Linked DNA regions of Homo sapiens: region 2 is linked to region 1. Evidence: promoter capture Hi-C in 16 types of primary human blood cells and fetal thymus (Javierre and others, 2016). All regions are on one chromosome and are shown on one strand. Each heading gives the region's core, a stretch centred on a gene start or on the middle of the fragment in contact. The rest is flanking DNA. Distances are from core to core; before and after follow the strand shown.

Region 1 (5,964 bases), core at 1,107-3,606:
AGCCTCTGGCACCCTGGTCTCCTTGCTGCTCCCCCTGGGCCTGGATGGCTCCACCCCAGGGCCTTTGCATGGAGGTTCCTTTTCCTCAGACCCTCTGCCCCAGATGTCTGGGTGAGCAACCACCTCCACGCCCTCAAGCTTGGTCTTCAACATCACCTGTCAACAAGCTCTCTTTTCACTACTTAAAAACCACAGCTCCCTCCCTCTCCCACACTATACTTTCTATTTTGTTTCTTTACCTCTCTTTCCTTTTTCTGTGGCCTGCATTACCTGGCTGTGTATGTATGTATGTGTGTATGTGTGTGTATGTATAAGTGTGTATGTGTGTGTATGTGCATGTGTGTGCATGTATGTGTGCATGTGTATGTGTGTGCATGTGTGTATGCATGCATGTGTGTATGTATATGTGCATATGTGCATGTATGCACGTATAAGTGTGTATGTATGCATGTGTGTATGTATGTGTATGTATGTGTGCGTGTATGTATGCACACATGTATGCATGTGTGTATGTGCATGTATGTATGCGTGCATGTATGTATGCACACATGCATGCATGTGTGTATGTATGCATGTGTATATATGCATGTGTGTGTATGTGTGTATGTGCATGCATGTGTGTATGTCTGCATGTGTGTATGTGTATATGTGTGTGTGTATTCCATAGCATGTTGCCCTCTGACATGCTGTGCATTTTTCTTGTTTATTGTATTATTATTCATGGCCTCACTTCCCCACCAGGATCCTTGTTTACGTTGCTCATTGATACATCCCAAGTACCTGGAACAGTGTCTGGTATATCGCGGATGTTTAGTAAGTCTTGAGAGGCTCACTGAGTGAACAGTGTTAATTTTCATGGTTTAAAACTTTATATAAATGGTACCATACTCGCTGCCGTACTTGCTGTCGTACTCGCTGCCGTACTGTGCACTTGCATTTTTGCTCCGCGTTCTGTTTTTGGCATTTATCCACATTGATCCATGTAGCTCTCATTTATTTTAACTGCCATGTGGTATTTCGCTGTATATGCCCATTTCTTTATCGCTTCTCCCCGTGTTGGATATTCAGGGTGTGTCCGGTGCTTTGGACACACAGTGTTGTGAGGAATATTCTGTACGCATCTTCTAGCACATGCATACTTCTTGTGGTAGTTTCTCTCTCACAGTGGATGGCCTATTAGAATGACTAGGGAATTCTTAGCTATTAGTTTGTTCCCAGAAGTTCTGGTTCAATTGATCTGGTCTGGGTTCAGTGCTGCAGAAATGTTTTTTCTTTTAAAGACATTCCTGGATGACTTTAACGACAGCCGGGGTTGAGAACCACGGCTCCTGGCTCGAAGGAGCAGATCTATGTTTGTGTTCTTGGGCATATCTAGAAAGAGATATGCTTTCTTTCTGGCTTGTCATCTACTTGCTTCAATTTTCCTAAAGGTTGCTTTCAAAGTGGTGGCACCATGCGTGATCCCAGCGGTGAATGCAGATTCCCACGTTTTCATTAACATTCTTTAAGTTGTTTGACCCTTGGGGTTTTCTGATAGGATGAGGGTGAAACGCATCCTCTTGTTCCCACAGCGTTCCCCTAATTCCGGGGGCTGAGTTTATTGATCGTTCAAGCATCTTCTTTTGTGACGGGACCGCTGATGTCCTTGACTCAAAGATGTTAAAAATACGTTTAGAAGGATCTTTATTTTTTCCTGCTGCTGTACGAGGCACCCTTTCTGGCCCCGTGTTTCCTTGCCCTTCTTTCCAGCAGCAGATTTTACTCAGAACAACTTCAGTGCTGTGGACACAAAGACGCAGGCCTTGGAGAGGCGGGTCAGCCCTGCCTCGGGGCTGCTGAGTGAGGTGCCAGATGCGTTTGTTCCTCATTTACTCATTTGCGTTTGTTCCTCATTTACTCGTTCCTCGCAGACTGGGTTGTAACACCATGTACCACCCTCTGAACCCAGAGATCAAGGGCTGGCTGGCCCTGTAGCCCCAAGGAGCTCCGTCACCGGCCAATGGGGAGGCGAACCCGTGGTGACCCACTCAGCGGCACCGCCAAGGGCTGAGCGTGGCGCCAGCGGCGGAAGGCCCGGGGTCACCGTCCCAGGCCGGGGCTCCGACCCCGAGTCCGCAGGGTCCTCTCCAGGCACCTTCCATCTGGGGTCTGGCTTCCACTCCCGGCCGCGGCGTCCTGATTTCCAGAAACCAGGCGGCCGCTGGAGGGGAGAAGGGGGAGCGGGCGCAGCGGGGGAGGGAGGAGAAGAAACGCCGGAGAAGGGAGAGTAGAGCGAGGAAGGACGCGAGGCGGGCGGAGCGCGGGGAGGTGCAGGGGGCGGGGAAGGGGCGGCGCCGCGAGGGCGGCTCCTGGCGGCGGGACTGTGGCTGTGGCCCCGGGAGAGCCGGGTGGGGCCTCGGGATGCAGCCGCCGGTGCCCGGGCCCCTGGGCCTGCTGGACCCCGCAGGTGAGCGCGGGGCTGGGGGCTCGTCTCGGCTCCTGCGGGGGAGCGTGGGGACCCCGGGGCTGGGACTACAGGTCCCCGGCCGGCCCGGGCGGAACCTGCGCGGAGACGCGGCACGGGGTCTGGTCCCTCCGCCTCCTTCGAGCTCTGTCTTTGGAACACTTTGCATTTCGCACTGGGGTCGGGCGTTCGTCCTACCGGTTCGTTCATTCATTCTCTCTCCCTGTCTCTCTCTCTGTCTCTGTCTCTGTCTCTCTCGCTCTTTCTGTCTCTGCCTCCTCAGTCTTTGCCTTTCTCTGACTCTGTGTCCGTTCCTCTTGGCCTCTCTCTCCCTGTTACGTTTTATTATGAGGAACAGGCGCCCCAAAGTGCGCTCCTTCCCCATCTCTTCCGTTTATTCCAACCTACACCATTTTCCGGGAAAACTTCGTTTGGAAGAGCGAGGTAGCCTTTTCCTGTTTGAACGTGCAGAGGCGCTCACAGAACTGGACAGTGTTGCTTGGTTTCGGCTCGCCCCTCTCTCGTGTTTCTCCCCGGTGTGTTCACGGAATCTCCAATTCTTCCACTTCCCAGACCAAGCCCGCTGCAGCCTCGGAGCCAGGCAAAGGCTGGGAAAACAGGAAACCTGTTGCGTGTTCACCAGTTCGCAAGCCGGGCTCGGGGGCTCTGCCGGGAAGTGGCCAGGACTGGAAGGATGCCGGGTGTCTTCCTGAGGGGGAGAGGGCTGGGCAGATTTCAGAACAAAAGAGAAACAGAGTTCCCTAGAAAGTGAAGCCCTGACGGCTGGAGGGAGGGATGGAGTGGTGTCTAGGGGGCTCTGCCGCTCCCTCAGAAATAATCCAACACAAACTTCTGGGGATTAACCTCACAACCCTTTTACTGCGGCATCGTTCGGAACCGGACGAATTACTGTTACTTAAAATAATCAAATAATTTGGCTTCTTTCTAAAAGAAACCACTATATGCCTTCCAATCTAAAGCAAAATGCTCTATGGTCAAATGTATTAATGTGGATTAGTCTATTGGTGTTTAATAATGATAACTATTATTATTATTTATTAACTAGTTTTATCATTATTAGAATGCCTTAATGTTTAAAAATAGCATCTGACTTAGATTTTCTTCTGACAAAGAACTTTAAACCTTAAAACAATACTTGGAGCTGGTCTTTTTAGTATATGAAACATTGGTGTATCTGGGTAGGATTATGGGTCTTTTTGTTTGGAGCTGGTCTTTTACTAAAATGTATAAAGCATTGGTGTGTCTGGGGTTGGATTATGGTCTTTCTGCTTTGGTGTGTCGGGGTGGATTATGGTCTTTCTGCTTTGGGGTATCTGGGGGTGGGTTATGGTCTTTCTGCTTTGGGGTATCTGGGGGTGGATTATGGTCTTTCTGCTTTGGGGTATCTGGGGGTGGATTATGGTCTTTCTGCTTTGGTGTGTCTGGGGGTGGATTATGGTCTTTCTGCTTTGGGGTATCGGGGGTGGGTTATGGTCTTTCTGCTTTGGGGTATCTGGGGGTGGATTATGGTCTTTCTGCTTTGGTGTGCCTGGGGGTGGATTATGGTCTTTCTGCTTTGGTGTGTCTGGGGGTGGGTTATGGTCTTTCTGCTTTGGTGTGTCTGGAGGTAGATTGTGGGTTTTTCTGCTTTGGGGTATCTGGGGGTGGACCATAGTCTTTCTGCTTTGGGGTACCTGGGGGTAGGATTATGGGTTTTTCTGCTTTGCCCTTCTTTGTTCACTACCCTGGGCATGTGTAAAATCAGGACGAAAGAGGAATTGACGGCTGAGTGATTACAGTTTTACCTGGGATTGTTACTTGGACACCATGACTGGTGTCCCCACATGATTAAATGGAACTCACTCTTCTTTTTGGGCGTTCCAGGTCCGGCTGGCAGGAAGGCCGGATCTTAGAACCCTTCCAAGCAGTGCCACCTCCCATGCTTTGTGACATTCCCCTTCCTGGCTCTGTGGAGTAGAGGAAATGGGTCTGAGGGGCAGGAAGAACCTGACCTCCAGCCTCGCGTGTCTTCCAGGTAGGACCTGGCGTGGGCACAGGCTCATGTGGTTCAGCTCCTCCAGCTAAGGCTGGGGAAGGAGCCAGGAAGGGGAGAGCAGGTGGGATGGGAGAAGTGGGGGCTGGTGGGGAGTGACAAGGTGATATTCTGAGATATCCTAGATGGGCTGCACCTGGGGAAGACTAGAATTAGAAAAATCAGCGCACTTGATAGCAGAGAGGTAGCTGTTGGCCCCTTCAGCTTCACATCTCAGAACTCCTCCTTGCAACTCCAGTGGGAGAAATGCTGGTTAAGAATAGCCGCTACGCCGTCTTAAAGTTCACACCACCCTGATGATTAGCATATGCATTCCATTTACAAAAACCTATATGAGAGCCCACGTATCGTGTCTCACTGGACGCTTATCACAATCTCAAGAGGTGGGTGAGCAGGTGGTTCTCATGATTTCCATCCTACAGGTCAGGAGACTGAAGTGCCTTCATTCATTCCGTACCAGGAGATGTGTCTATGTCCTCATCTGAGCCCCGGGAACCGGCGACAAACAAGAGACAGAGCTCTTGGCTCTCATAGGGTTCTCTTCTCCCAGGCTCAGGGAGATTAAATGGCCGCCCAAGACCACACAATGGGTCTGGACAGACCCAGAATGGTTTGGGTCCAGTCCCTGTAAGCTGCCTCTGCAATAGAAACCTATTGGTAGATATTTTAATTAATAGTTGGGGCACTTAGGAGCACTTTAATTTTCACAGTGCGTGTAATAACAGTATTTCCGGGACAGGAAAAAAAAAAAAATCAAGGAAATTATTCAGGTGATTTTAATTATCTTTCTCCTAAGTGAAAGCCCCTTTCTCTTGAAAATCTGACCTTATAATTATCTCTTATGCTAATTATAAAGATATCCCACCTTCTTTTCTTGAGTTTATTTTTTTTCTCATTTTTATGCTGTGTCATGTATTTATAGAATGTGTTTAAGGTTGGGAGTCTTCTTTTTGTTATCTCTATTATATCTGGAGTCAAAATATCACCATTGTGTAATTGAATGAGATGATTTGCAACCATTGCTCCCAGTGCCCCATGTAAGTTCTACTGTCTTTCTAGACTTGTATAATCTAGGAATCTGTGATAGGAATGCTGATAAAAGGGTGGCTCATACCTTCTGCTTTTTATTTTGTAGCAGATGGGGGGGAAGTTAGACTCAGGAAAGAGGGGTAAACATAGCAAAGTTAGGTTGAAAATGGTTTGTAGGAGGATTTACGTGGTTTCAGAGGAGATGTGTCTAACTCTTCGCATAGTAATTAACAAGTCAGCATGTTACCGATTGACTTGACAAGGTCAGTTAGCCCAGTGGGTCTTGCTGGGCCCCCACTCTTCATGCCAAGGAACCGAGCAGAGCTTCCAGCTTTAAGAACCAGAATCCAGTCACAGGGTTCCTGACAGACGGACGCCCACAGGAGGCTGGGACAGGAGCCCCACGGAAGGTTCTACCTGTGGGTCGAAGCAGACGCTG
Region 2 (5,325 bases), core at 788-3,287, 450 kb after region 1:
ACAGCTTTTTAGTGCATTCCTTAAGATTTTCTATATGCAAGATCATATCATCTGTGAATAGAAATAGTTTGCTTCTTCTTTCCCAATTTGGATGTCTTTTATTTTCATGTTCAGTGAGGGTTGAACTTCTCTAAATTCTGTTGCAAGTGAAACAGCATTTAGAACAGCTCGTCCCTTTGGGAAGAGCTGGGAGTGGAGACAATGGCAATCTTCTCTCTGAGTGACACCCCAGGCTCTTTGCTTCATTGTGTGTATGTTGTGGGGACACACAGGTCTTCTGGGCTTGCCTCTCCCATCTTGGAACCAATGCCTGTGAACCAGCCCAAGGGGATCCGGGCTCCTGTATTCTTAGAAGCACAATTTCCAAGGCTCTAGGCTGATCCTCCATTCCATAAACAGGGGCTGGGCAGAACAATGCCACACTCACCTGGGACTTAGTCTCAGCAACAGGCAGTTGAGGACAAGAGGAGAAAAGCTGAGGCCCTGCCTCTTCCAGGAAGGAGGCCCTTCGACTAGAAGCTATGGGGAGTAGAGCCTGTGTGCCTGGCTGCAGCCTCTGGAGTGCAGTCTGCATTGCCGAGCTGGGAACAGCAGGGAAAGAGCAGGTTTCAGCTCAAATGCCAGAGACATTTGCCAAATTACAGTAGCTTTTTTTCTTTTCCTTTTTTTTTTTTTTTTTGAGACAAAGTCTTGCTTTGTTGCCCAGGCTGGAGTGCAGTGGCACAATCTCGGCTCACTGCAACCTCCACCTCCCAGTTCAAGTGATTCTCCTGCCTCAGCCTCCCGAGTAGCTGGGATTACAGGCGCGTGCCACCACACCTGGCTAATTTTTGTATCTTTAGTAGAGACAGGGTTTCGCCATGTTGGCCAGGCTGGTCTTGAACTCTTGACCTCAGATGATCTGCCCACCTCAGCCTCCCAAAGTGCTGGGATTACAGGCGTGAGCCACCGCTCCTGGCCAGTAGCTTTTTTTAAATAAATGTTTCTTCTTAGGACCATACAGCGGAGACTTTGAACCCTAACCCTAACCATATAATGGAATATTGCCCAGCTATGAAATGGAATAAAGTATTGACACGGGCTACAACATGGATGAACTTTGAAAACATGCTAAGTGAAAGAAGGCAGTCACAAAAGACCACATATTAGACGATTCCACGTATATGAAACAAATCTATAGAAACAGAAAGTAGATCAGTGGTTGCTTAAGGCAAGGGTATGGAGGGGTAGCAAGATGATAAAGGGTCCAGGGCTCCCTAAGGAAGTGATGAAAATCTTCTCAACTGACTGTTGAGGACTGTGGGCGTCTCCCCATTGAACTGCACACGATAAATGAGTGACTTGTATGGTATGTGAACTGTATCTCAAGGAAGAATCTCACTGCTTTTGGGGGCTTCTAAGACCCACAGCCCATTCACCAAACCTACTGCAAATGGCAAGGGACCAGGGTCACTGGATTCTGGCCTTCTCTGGTCAGCTGGATGTGTATGGATGCTCCTGTATGGGATCAGGGAGGAGTTCTTGCCTTAAAGGGACAGGCATTGAAATGCCAACAAAAAGGGACCCCTCCCAGACCCAGTGCAATTCCTGAGGGGATAAAAGAAAGAAGCTGTGGCCCTGGCACAGGCTGCCAAGCATCACCACCGCATGGCAGCAGTGTCCCCGCATCCACCTGGTGTGGGCAAGGCACAAGCTCAGCCTGAGCCCCATCTGCTCCCCTGCCGCTGCAAGGGCAGCACCATGCAGGGCACACAGAAAGTCCTCAGGGCTCGCAAACCAGAAAGTATCTAGACAGGTCTCAAACAATCTAGGGGTTTATTTGCCACCATTGAGGACGCTACTGGGATACGGCATGGACAGCGAGGGGAGGGGTCCCGTTCTTGTGAAGCTTGATATTACATTGTAATATAGAATGAAGTAATTATACAACTCAACATCATGTAGAATCAGTGGGAGCCCTGAGTTTGTTTTCCTGCAACTAGATGGTCCCATCTAGGGATCGTGTGGAGACAGTGACAGATCATCAGGCATTAGATTTTCATAAGGAACACGCAGCTTAGATCTCTCGAACGTGCAGTTCACAATAGGGTTCACACTCCTATGACAATCTAATGGCACTGCTGATCTGACAGGAGGTGGAGCTCAGGCAGTAATGCCAGCAATGGGGAGTGGCTGTGAATACAGATGAAGCTTCGCTCCCTCGCCTGCTGCTCACCTCCTGCTGTTTGGCCTGGTTCCTAACAGGCCACAGACTGGTATGGGTCCATGGCCCGGGGGTTGGGGACCTCTGCCTTATAGGGAAAACTGATTAGATCATTGTTCTTTGCTTGTAAATGTTCTCATGTAGCCAACTAGACTTTGTCACCACCACCATTTTTTTCCCTAGAGAGGCTATGTGGTGGCTTTTAATCCCATTTTGGCTCTACAACTCAGGTCCAAAATATGTCCCATGCTCTTCCTCTAAGAGAAGACATTGGCCAGAAAGCAAGGAGAAGCTGTATCCAGAAAGTAAAGAATCTGTAATCAATGCATCTCCTTGGGTCACTCGGCAGTTTCAACATTCCATGGAGCTGGTAAGATCTGTGAGCCAGGCTCTTGGTGGGACCTCAGCTCACTCTGCCGTCTCTCCCAGCTTTAGACCTGGGCTTCACGACTTCTAGCTGTGTGACCTTGGACAAATTGTCAGGTTCTCTGCTCCTTGGTTTCCCCATGTATAAAATAGGAACTCCTGTGCCTTTCTTGTAGGCTTGTCATGAGAATGAAATGAGTTAATACATGCAAATGCTTAGTGCTCAGCACTCAATAAAAGTCAGCCAATATCGTTGTTGCTATTAGCTTCTTCATATTTCAAATACGGATTTCTTTAACTTTTTCGTGCCACGACCTGCTTTGGAAGAATGGTGACGTCATAGACTCCTGAAAGCAGTGTGCTTAAATGAATAGAATAAAATCCACACAATTTGACAGGCAGCCAATTATATTGAAGCACGTTATCAAAATAATTCTTTAACCATGACAAAATAATTCATGTGCTTATTTATTACCATATTAAATAACAGAACCCTGCAGCAGGCCCTATAGCCACCAAAATTCACCTAAGTGATAAGTATGAATAATGTTCCAAAAATAAGCACCAACTGTAATATCTGAAGTTTCTCTTGGTGATAAAGTCATAGGTTACCGTGTTTGTTGCCTCCAATTATAATGGAAGAAAATGCTGAATTACAGCTAAAAACTGGTGAAAATATGACGCAATTGCTTTCCTATCCAGGTTCATGGATGCCTGAATTCTATCCATGGTTTTCTGGACTATGTGCCAAATCTCCCAGCCCATGTCTCTAGGATTTGGCTCTGGCTGGGACGACTTTGGGAACCTTGCTATGTGTCCAGTTTTCTATACAGAAGCCTGGACAAGAACCCCTTCCTTTGGGCTGCCAGAAACCACAAGATGCGAGTTCTCCCTGCCGCCTCCAATATGAATAAGCAGGTCCACAACCAAAGACAGCCTCATCCCTCAGAGAATTAAATAGGACCCCTTTGGTTTTTGGATATAGAAGGTGATTTTTAAAGCCTGGAGGAGAATTTGGCTAAATGAAAATTTAGGGAGGAAGGAAGACAAATGAAGCCAGCTACCGATTACTCATGAAAAGAAAAGAGAAGAAAGCAAGCAAGGATAATCCACAAAGAATGGATAATAGAGAAACATTCCCTTTCTGCTGCCGTGAGGACCACAGTGAAACAGGAGCTCGCTTGCCACTGCCATCTGGGCACCATCCCGCTGTCCGCATCCAACACAGCTAATTTGCTCCAGTGAAACTTCAAGTAGCCAAAGTCATCATTTAAGCACAGTAAAAGAAAGAGAAGACTTAATTGGATGACATCAATTTGCACAATAACACGAGTAGGTGGTCTCATAGAAGACCAGATAATAAAGTGAACAGGTCTGCCTGGAATAATAACAAAGGTGTCAGTTAAAACGATGTCTCAAGTACAACACCTTTCTCCTCCGTGTCTCAGGGGCCCTTCCTGGTATGTGAAAAGAAATCTAGAGTGTTCGTGTAGGCCTAGCTCTTACTCAGCTTTCAGCCTTCACCTAAATGTCACATGGAGAGGAAGGTCCTGATGGTCTAGAGGAAGGAAGGTCTAGAGGAAGGTCCTGATGCCCACCAGTGTGGCGCTCATTCTGTGCTCGTTCTGGCTCCACCGTTGTGTCTTCCTTTACCACGGGCACCACAGTTGTCATCCAAGCAGCCAAAGTCATCATTTAAGCACGGTAAAAGAAAGCACAGTCACTTACTTGTGTGTTGACCTGTCTACTGTCTGTCTTCCCACTGAATCTCAAGCCTTATGATTCCAGGGACTTTGTCTCTTTTGTTTATCATTGTAGACTCAATGCCCAGGCCAATGCTCGGCACATAGTAGGTACTCAGTAAATATTTGTTGAATGACTGAACAATCAAATGAGGTCACCAGTGACTTCCCAGTTGCTCAATTTATTGAATTGTTTCCTTTTAAAGTTTAAAAAATAATGTTTTTATTGTTCCTGATTATAACATAATACATATTTATGGATACCAAGAAGAAATTTAACTATCATTTCATCACCCAGAGAGAATACTTTTTGTATATTTTCTGCATTTTGTATATTTTTGTATATTTTCTGCATTTCCAAATATATAATAGAGTTATATTTTTGTGCACATATATGTATTAAGTATAATTAAAATTGTACCTTATATGTGATCTTATATCCTGGCTTAAGACTTTTTACATCTCATTGAAACTTTTGAACACCACTTCAATGGGTTCATCACTTTCTTAATCAGTTCCATATTATTAAAAATTAATTCAGAATTTTCACTATTATCAGTGATGCTGAAAGGGACACTTTTATGCATTAATTTCATGTGGACTCTTCCATCCTACTCTTTTTATGTTGAGTGACTTTGCTGATTTTGACCCACTGTATTTGACCCTCATAAAATGTCAGTTTAGTTTGATCCGATCTAACCCTTGACCTTTCTGCAGCTTTTAACATTAGCATCCTTGCCCCTCCTGGTTGTAATTCACTCCTGACTTTCTGCACTTCCTACCTCCCTCACTGTTTTCTTCTGCCCTATTTTCTTCTGCTCCCGTGGCTCAGCCTTTGGCTGCCTCCCTGCCTGTCTGTCCTCCATGGGCAACGTTGCCCAGCACCACTTCGATGCTGCAGATTTGATTGCAGATCCAGGTCTTCAGCCCTGTTGTCACTCCTGAGCACCAGCCTACCAGATGGTTCCACCCAAATGTTCCACCCCAGCTCAAGCCCAGCTCCAGCCCCACCTT

The links. The method cuts DNA at HindIII sites, captures the fragments that hold promoters and counts their contacts. A CHiCAGO score of 5 or more calls a contact.
Region 2: a fragment that was not itself captured here is called in contact with the fragment with the promoter of TMEM255B in region 1 in 1 of 17 cell types (M1 macrophages); the score reaches 5.1 in M1 macrophages.

Annotation. Positions count from the first base shown.
Region 1 is chr13:113,756,870-113,762,833 of GRCh38, forward strand. It overlaps TMEM255B (transmembrane protein 255B), which reads left to right and starts at 2,357. Exons shown (of 9, transcript NM_182614.4): 1 at 2,357-2,446. The coding sequence starts at 2,401. RefSeq lists enhancers at 1,517-2,018, 2,575-3,076. The HindIII fragment of the contact is 10,322 bases long and covers 137-5,964 here.
Region 2 is chr13:114,205,443-114,210,767 of GRCh38, forward strand. The region is part of intron 3 of CFAP97D2 (CFAP97 domain containing 2); the gene reads left to right. Among named protein-coding and RNA genes, the nearest start is that of CDC16, 27 kb to the right of the region's middle. The HindIII fragment of the contact is 302 bases long and covers 1,887-2,188 here.